2 separate regions of the Homo sapiens genome follow, and region 1 is linked to region 2. The links are contacts of gene promoters, found by promoter capture Hi-C in blood cells and fetal thymus (Javierre and others, 2016). All regions are on one chromosome and are shown on one strand. Each heading gives the region's core, a stretch centred on a gene start or on the middle of the fragment in contact. The rest is flanking DNA. Distances are from core to core; before and after follow the strand shown. Region 1 overlaps SPAG17 (sperm associated antigen 17). Region 2 holds the start of WARS2 (tryptophanyl tRNA synthetase 2, mitochondrial).

Region 1 (3,282 bases), core at 390-2,889, 1.0 Mb after region 2:
AACTTTATGGGATAAATGTGCAAATTTTAGGTTTGACATTATCACTTTGGTAAATCAGAAAAAGCTACTAGTTGATAGGGGTTTACTTATCCAATTTATCTGAAATCAGAACCAACCATCCTAAAAGTTTTTAAATTCCACTTCATGTTTCTTTTCATTTCATGATGGTGGTCACCATGCCTACCAACCAGGAAATGAGCCTTCATCCACACAAATGGGCCGTGATTTATGTGCCTGTGACTTATTTATAAAAGACGCATTAGGTCATCACAAAATGAAAAATAAAAAAAATGAAAAGCTTACTGAAACAAAAATTGTCTATAAAGAATAAAAGTTCTTATGCTCTAGTTGATGACTCACTTATTTCAAAACAATTTTCCAAGTTTCTGTACAATAAAGAACTTGAACTATCCTAAACATTATGTGATATGGTGCAATTTTGTAAATGCAAATAATTATTAATTTTTTTTTTACTCCTGTCAGTAAAAAAATTCTCATATTTTTAAGAAAATAATTTTTAAAATAACTTTTTAACAAATATATCTTAAAATATTTCTACGGGCCTTTCTATTGCAACCGGGAGACCATCAAATGTGGAAAGATTTTTCTGATATTAGATTTAAAAATAATGGACCAAATGCAGTTTAATAAAATGTAGAATGCAAATTAGATCTTCAGATCTAATGCATTTCACCATACTTTAAGACACTATGCTAGTGCCTCAGATTAGTATGCCCAGATGTAATAGTTCCATTTTTTGACTTCTGTTTCCTGGATGTATAGAAATTTTTCTCAGGTCTTTTCCAACATGTATTTATTAGTAATTGACAAGTGAGAACACAGGCTTAATTATAATCTATTTTGCCACTCTTTTTCAGATTCCTGATATGAAACTCATTTTTTAAACAGTGCCTTGAATTAATAGTCAATTTAATAGAATTGTAAGCCCTTATATTGGGGGTGGCCCTTGTCAGAATGAAAAATGGAAAACTCATGCTTCAGAGATAGGTACAAATAATATGTGAAAACATTTAAGAGGTTTGAAGTTATTAAAATGGCAGCTCTACTGGGAACAGAGAGAGCAGTATGTCATGGAAGAAACGAAGGAAAAGGGAGACAGGAAGCATTCTCTGGCCTTTTCAATCCCGCGCTTTAAAACAAAACAAAAAAATTCTGGAAGAATTGGAAGCTAGCCAACCTAATGCCGTTATTTCATAGAGCTTAGGGACACACCAGGAAATTGCAGGCCAGTTAGTTTAACTTCACTTGTAGGAAAAGTATTAAAAACTGCTGCAGGAGATCAAGTAAAAGGATGCTTAGAAAAGCACAGCTTGATTAAGGCAAGCCTGGCCAACGTGATTTTCGGAAAGGGAAGGTCATGTCTTAGGAACTTGTTGAAATTCTTTGAAGCTATTATGGCCAGTACAGTCTTCAAAGAATACAGCAAGACTCAGAATCTGCGGATCTTTCCGTTCCACATCAGTCCTTCAGGGATGCCTACAGAACGTGGCCCACACCAGGGCCTCGGCACTCCACATTTAGAAACCACTATCAAAATAGCAGAAATAACCCCTGATGGAACATTTTTTAAAGCTGGAACCAATTAATACAACCTGATATTTATAAATGTAAAATAATGAGACTTGGAACAAAATTTGGGAATATCAAGCTGTAACAAAGAAGTGCTACGTTGGGACTATAAAAACAATCTAGGAGTTCTTGTGCCAAAATCTGGGTTTTGGAGGCATTTCTTACCCGAAGAAGGAAAGAAGAGGAGAAATAGTAATGCTAGAAACGGTTACAAAGGGCTATGAAGAGTTACAAATGAATGACTTTTGTCAAGATGGGGAAAAGAGCAGTCAGATGTGTTAACAGCCCTGGGCCCCCACATTTCTGGAGGGCACCAAAGCAGCTCAGCAGAGAAAGTCAAGTTCAAGCTAGTCACTGAGGGGCAGAAGGTCAGGGCTCCATTGCTTTAGGAATGGGCTCCCAGGGTGTGAATACGTTTGCCTCCCAGATCAGAAACCTGGAGTTCTATTTTCAAAGAAAAGCAGAACTCAAGTAAAGGCATTCAAAAACAATTCAAATCATGCCCCAGCTCTCTTCCACCCTGGGGGTCAGGCAGCTGGCCAAGCCCATGTGGCAAATAGTTAGCAGTCCAGGAGAGGGGAGGTAGACACTGGGGAGGTGTGGTGGTGATGCAGTGGAGCCGGGGATCCAGCAGCAGGAAGCCCATGCCACACAAGGACTGGGTTGCTGGCTAGGACCTGCAGGCAGTGGGCAAGGCAGGAATCTCATCAGGAGTTCCAAGACAGACCTCAGTGGAGGGCCAGCCACAAGAATAAAGTGAGGTTCAGCTAATGAAGAGAAGTCATCACAGCTTCTCCTCCAGGTCTGGGCTGGGGTGGTTTCTGAAACCTCTTAACACCCTATACTCTACAGACACCAGGATTGGAGGGGTGCTGGGGAAGGAATCAAGAAGATTGTATCATTCTGTTTCTGTATTTAAAACTGTGAAAAATCAATAATTACATATGGTGATAATAAAAGTTACCACTTATTGAACACATGTATTCCAAGTCTTGTGTGCTGGGTAGTTCATATATATCAACTAACCTAATCTCTTTTTTTTTGGCTGGCTTTTTTCTTTTTGTGGGGAACAGGAGCGTGCTATGTTGCCTGGGTAAGTCTTGAACTCCTGGGGTTCAAGCTATCCTCCCGCCCCTGCCAGCCCAATTACTGGGATTATAGGTGTAAACCACTGCACCTGGCTAACTTAACCATCTTAACAACCTTTCAGATACCTATGAATGATGAAATTTGAATCAGACTGGTTAGGTAACTTGTTGATTCAGAAGTCTGTTTTTTCTACTTGCATCACACACAAGCTGAGAATAAATAGTTTAAATTCTGGAAGTGACTGTTGTGGTTTAATATGTCTTCAATATAAGCTACTGCTAGTTACTTAGAATTAAGCTTTAAATCTCTCAGTAGTTCTATGATATGTTTATTACTTTTCCTTCTACTCAGGCAAAAACATGAAGGTATATCTGCAGATGATGAAGAGATCAAATAATTTCAGTTGGAGCTTTTAAGCCACTTCGATGAGTGGCTTTTGCCCACATGTTTGGGTCAACAGGGTTTTTTAATTCTTATGGTTAAGATTTATATGGTTAAGTGACCATGTCTTTTCTTTGGAGGATGAAAGAAAGAAAGATGGAAAATAAGAGGGAAGTTAATACATATTCAGCAGAGATCAAAGTGTGGAGAGACCTTTCTAAA
Region 2 (3,559 bases), core at 570-3,069:
GTACACCCTTTGACAGCTTTTGGTGCACCATAGTCTTATTGCTAGGTTTTATCTTGCTATCTAGATGACTAAAGATGTCAGAAAGCTAATCTTGCTAATTGCTAGGGTCATGTAATCTCATTAATAAAATATATGTAAAACACTGTACTATAATGCTTTGCTCTATGTATGAGTAAAACATGTAGGGCATTTATTAAACTGCATTTTACAAGGCATAACATATATCCCCCTTCCCCTGGCAAGGTTTGTTTCCAGGGTCTCAGTAATATCACATTCTTTGGGTTCTACAACACCTCTTGGCTCCTTTATTTCCATCATCTGGCTACTTTCACTCCACAAACTCTATCTGATGGTCTCAAGGATTTCCTTGGTTTCAATTACCATCTGTTTGGTAGTTCAAATCTCTTCTGAGCTCCAGACCCATGTATCTATTTAATGGGCATCACATTTTGGAAGTACTACAAGCACCTCAAATTTAACAGCCAAAACCAAACTGATCAGCTTTGTTGAAGACTATAACTTGATTTCCTAGTTTTTTTTTTGCCTTCATCCCTTTCCTGCTCACTTCTAAATTACACCAATTATACTTGAACTTCACCAGTACTTTGTATACCTACAAGATTATCCTATATGGTTTTAATTTACTGTTTTGTCTTACCCTGGTAGATTTCAGCTCCTTTATAGGCATCTCTTATCTCCTACCTCTCCTTGGTAATTTTCAGTAGCTGGATGAATTATAAACAAAACACATAAAGGAATTGTCATGAATTTCTTCCAGTTATATTTTTACTGAAACACTCGTTATCTGTCTGGGAGATTTTTAGGTGAATTAACAGAAGCAGAAAAACTGTATTAAACTTTCTCATAACCCCAAACAAAACAATTTCTTCCATCAGGTATAACCTTCCTGCAGCCTTCCCTAGACTAGGTTGAAACACCACAGTCATAACCACTCCTCCTTAAAACTTGCGGTGCTTGCTTCTTTAACACCTATTAAGTGTACATCATTTATTTATCCGCTACTCTATTAGACTGTACACAACTTGAAGACAAGATATGTCTTTCTCTGTACCTTCAGTGCCCAGCACATTACGGTAGGGTTCAACAAAGTTTACAGGACGAATGAAATAAGGCCACATAAGTCCAGTGCGGTGGCACATGCCTGTAATCCCAGCACTTTAGGAGGCCGAGGCAGATGGCTTGGCTTGAGCTCAGGAGTTTGAGAGAGCCTGGGCAACATGGTGAAACCCTGTCTCCACCAAAATACAAAAATTAGCCGGGCGTGGTGGCGCACCCTTGTGGTCCCAGCTACTCAGGAGGCTGAGGCAGGAGAATAGCTTGAGTCTGGGAGGTGGAGGTTGCAGTGAGCCGAGATCGCGCCATTGCACTCCAGCCTGGGCGAGAGTGAGACCTTGTCTCAAAGAAAAAAAAGGGAAATGAGGCCACACATGTCTAAAAAGACCACTTATATTACCCTCTAAGAGAACTGGGAGTTTCTAAACAAACTTTTTAAAGGTTGCCTTCACATAGCTAAGATCAGAAATGCAGCCTACTTGACTTTCTTCCAGTCTAAAGCGTTGCTACTAATAACCCCCAAGGAAATTCTCCTTCCAGGAAGGCTGAGCAGACAAGGGATCCAGGGAAAAACACTAAAGCCCCACCCCGCTCCTGTCCCCACCTGCTCGGCAAGAACTGCAGTCCGCCCGATAGCGGCTGCGCTGCGCAGCCTGGAGGCCCAAGCCGCGCCCAGCAAGCAGGAGTCGCGAGACTGGGATTGGCTCTCTGAACAGACGTCATTCCAAACAAGACGGCTCCGCCCTTCTCAAGATGGCGCTGCACTCAATGCGGAAAGCGCGTGAGCGCTGGAGCTTCATCCGGGCACTTCATAAGGGATCCGCAGCTGCTCCCGCTCTCCAGGTAACCAAAGACGGCCCTTCCCTCCGCGGCTTCCCATCCCGCGAGGTTCTTCTCATCCCACTGCCCTCTATTTATTTCTCTCCTCCCGCTTCTTAGGGAAAGTACATGCCTTCCCTCGCCTAAGGTCTACTCGTCTATGACTGTCGGCCTGCTCAGAGCGTAGTGACGTTGCAAGGATACGTGATGACGTAAAGGTTTCTTGGTGGAAAAAGCGCGCCGCTTTCTGACCTCTTGCCGCCACCTCCAGTTCTGGGAGCGGAGCGCCGCCGCTGTTGCCGGGCAACGCGGTGAGCCTACCCCGCGTGTGATGTTTTCAGAGACGGGTTGTTTTAGAGACTGCTCTTCTTGTGGTCTTATTACTGTTTTTACCCTCCTTACCCTAACAACACGCTAAGGGGCTATCGGAGAGAGTAGAGAAGTTTTGTTAGGCATTGGGCAGCTTGGGTCGGGGCAGCAGGTTGGCAGTGTGGTACTTGAGCAAGTGTCAGTGCATCTTCCATTCTGGTTGCTCCTGGTGGCTCCACAGCACTGCTCTATCTAGCAGGCTGTGAAAGAGTGACCGCAAGCTGCTACAGAGTTTGTCCTGTCCTGCGCTTGACAACACTGCTGTTACCATTAATCTCGTCGTACGGAGACCATGTCGCGGCCTGGTCTTATTGGGAATTGTCTTAAATATTTGGAATTTTACCCTCATAGCAAAAAAGTCAGGGGGAGGGGATACCCTTTCAGTTATTCAGGATTTTACCAAACGTCTTCCAAGTACAGTCTCAGTGGCAAGCACTTTGACATACTTTATCTACGGGAGATATATTCTGGGAACTAGAGAGAAAGGAGAGAATGTGATTTTATTAGGTAATTTCCCGGCATCATTTGCATATGTATTGCCATAATGAGTAGGTGTGAGGATGTCGCACCTATTGTAACTGTTGTGTTGAAAACAGCGCTAGACAGGAAGGTAGCCTAGAGGTCAAGGGTTTGGTCTGCCACTTGACAGCTGTGTGACAAGTCACAATCTCTCTGGGACTTTTCTTCTTTTTTTGCTCATATTGAGTGGAGGAAGAGAGCTGGACTGATTGACACGTTAATGTTCTTTCAACCTCTGGAAAATCTATAGTTCCATGATTATGAAGCCAAAACAAAGCCAATGAGAGTAATTATGAAAACCAAAATTTAAGTTCAACTTATTTTTCTAGTCATGTCATAAATTTTTTGAACTTCCGTTTTTTATTAATGTGAGCCTCACAAAATTCTTATAAGCTAATATATTAATATATACCGGAAAGCTGCTTGTCAGCAAACAACTATTCAAATGTCACCTTAAATTTCAGCAGCAATGTTAGGTAAGACAATTCAAAATTAGATAAATTTATCAAAAATTCCTCTCCTTGAAATTTGAGGGTTTGATTCTGCAGAACTAGAATGAGATGATTATTTATAATTTATAGCACATTAACACCTATGCTATCAAAGTAGCTAAGCCGTAGACCCAAACTTCCCCTTATTCCAAACTAAAGAATTGAAGATGTCTTGAGAATAGAGAATCAAAGAGAGAGAGAAAAAAAAGACAAACTGCAGCCTGCTAATGACTGCCCAGGGAAGTTTAAGACACTAAGTCATTATAAATGCTAAAGAAAAAATTTCT

The links. Contacts are between HindIII fragments. The CHiCAGO score rates a contact against its expected background, and 5 or more counts as called.
Region 1: a contact is called between a fragment that was not itself captured here and the fragment with the promoter of WARS2 in region 2, in 1 of 17 cell types (M1 macrophages). The highest score is 5.0, in M1 macrophages.

The regions. Positions count from the first base shown.
Region 1 is chr1:118,142,907-118,146,188 of GRCh38, reverse strand. All of the region lies in intron 3 of SPAG17 (sperm associated antigen 17), which reads left to right. Among named protein-coding and RNA genes, the nearest start is that of SPAG17, 41 kb to the left of the region's middle. The HindIII fragment of the contact is 2,678 bases long and covers 301-2,978 here.
Region 2 is chr1:119,138,913-119,142,471 of GRCh38, reverse strand. It overlaps WARS2 (tryptophanyl tRNA synthetase 2, mitochondrial), which reads left to right and starts at 1,819. Exons shown (of 6, transcript NM_015836.4): 1 at 1,819-1,917. The coding sequence starts at 1,828. It overlaps WARS2-AS1 (WARS2 antisense RNA 1), which reads right to left and starts at 2,076. Exons shown (of 7, transcript NR_125975.1): 1 at 1,679-2,076; 2 at 659-725. RefSeq lists an enhancer at 1,738-2,047. The HindIII fragment of the contact is 7,742 bases long and covers 1-3,559 here.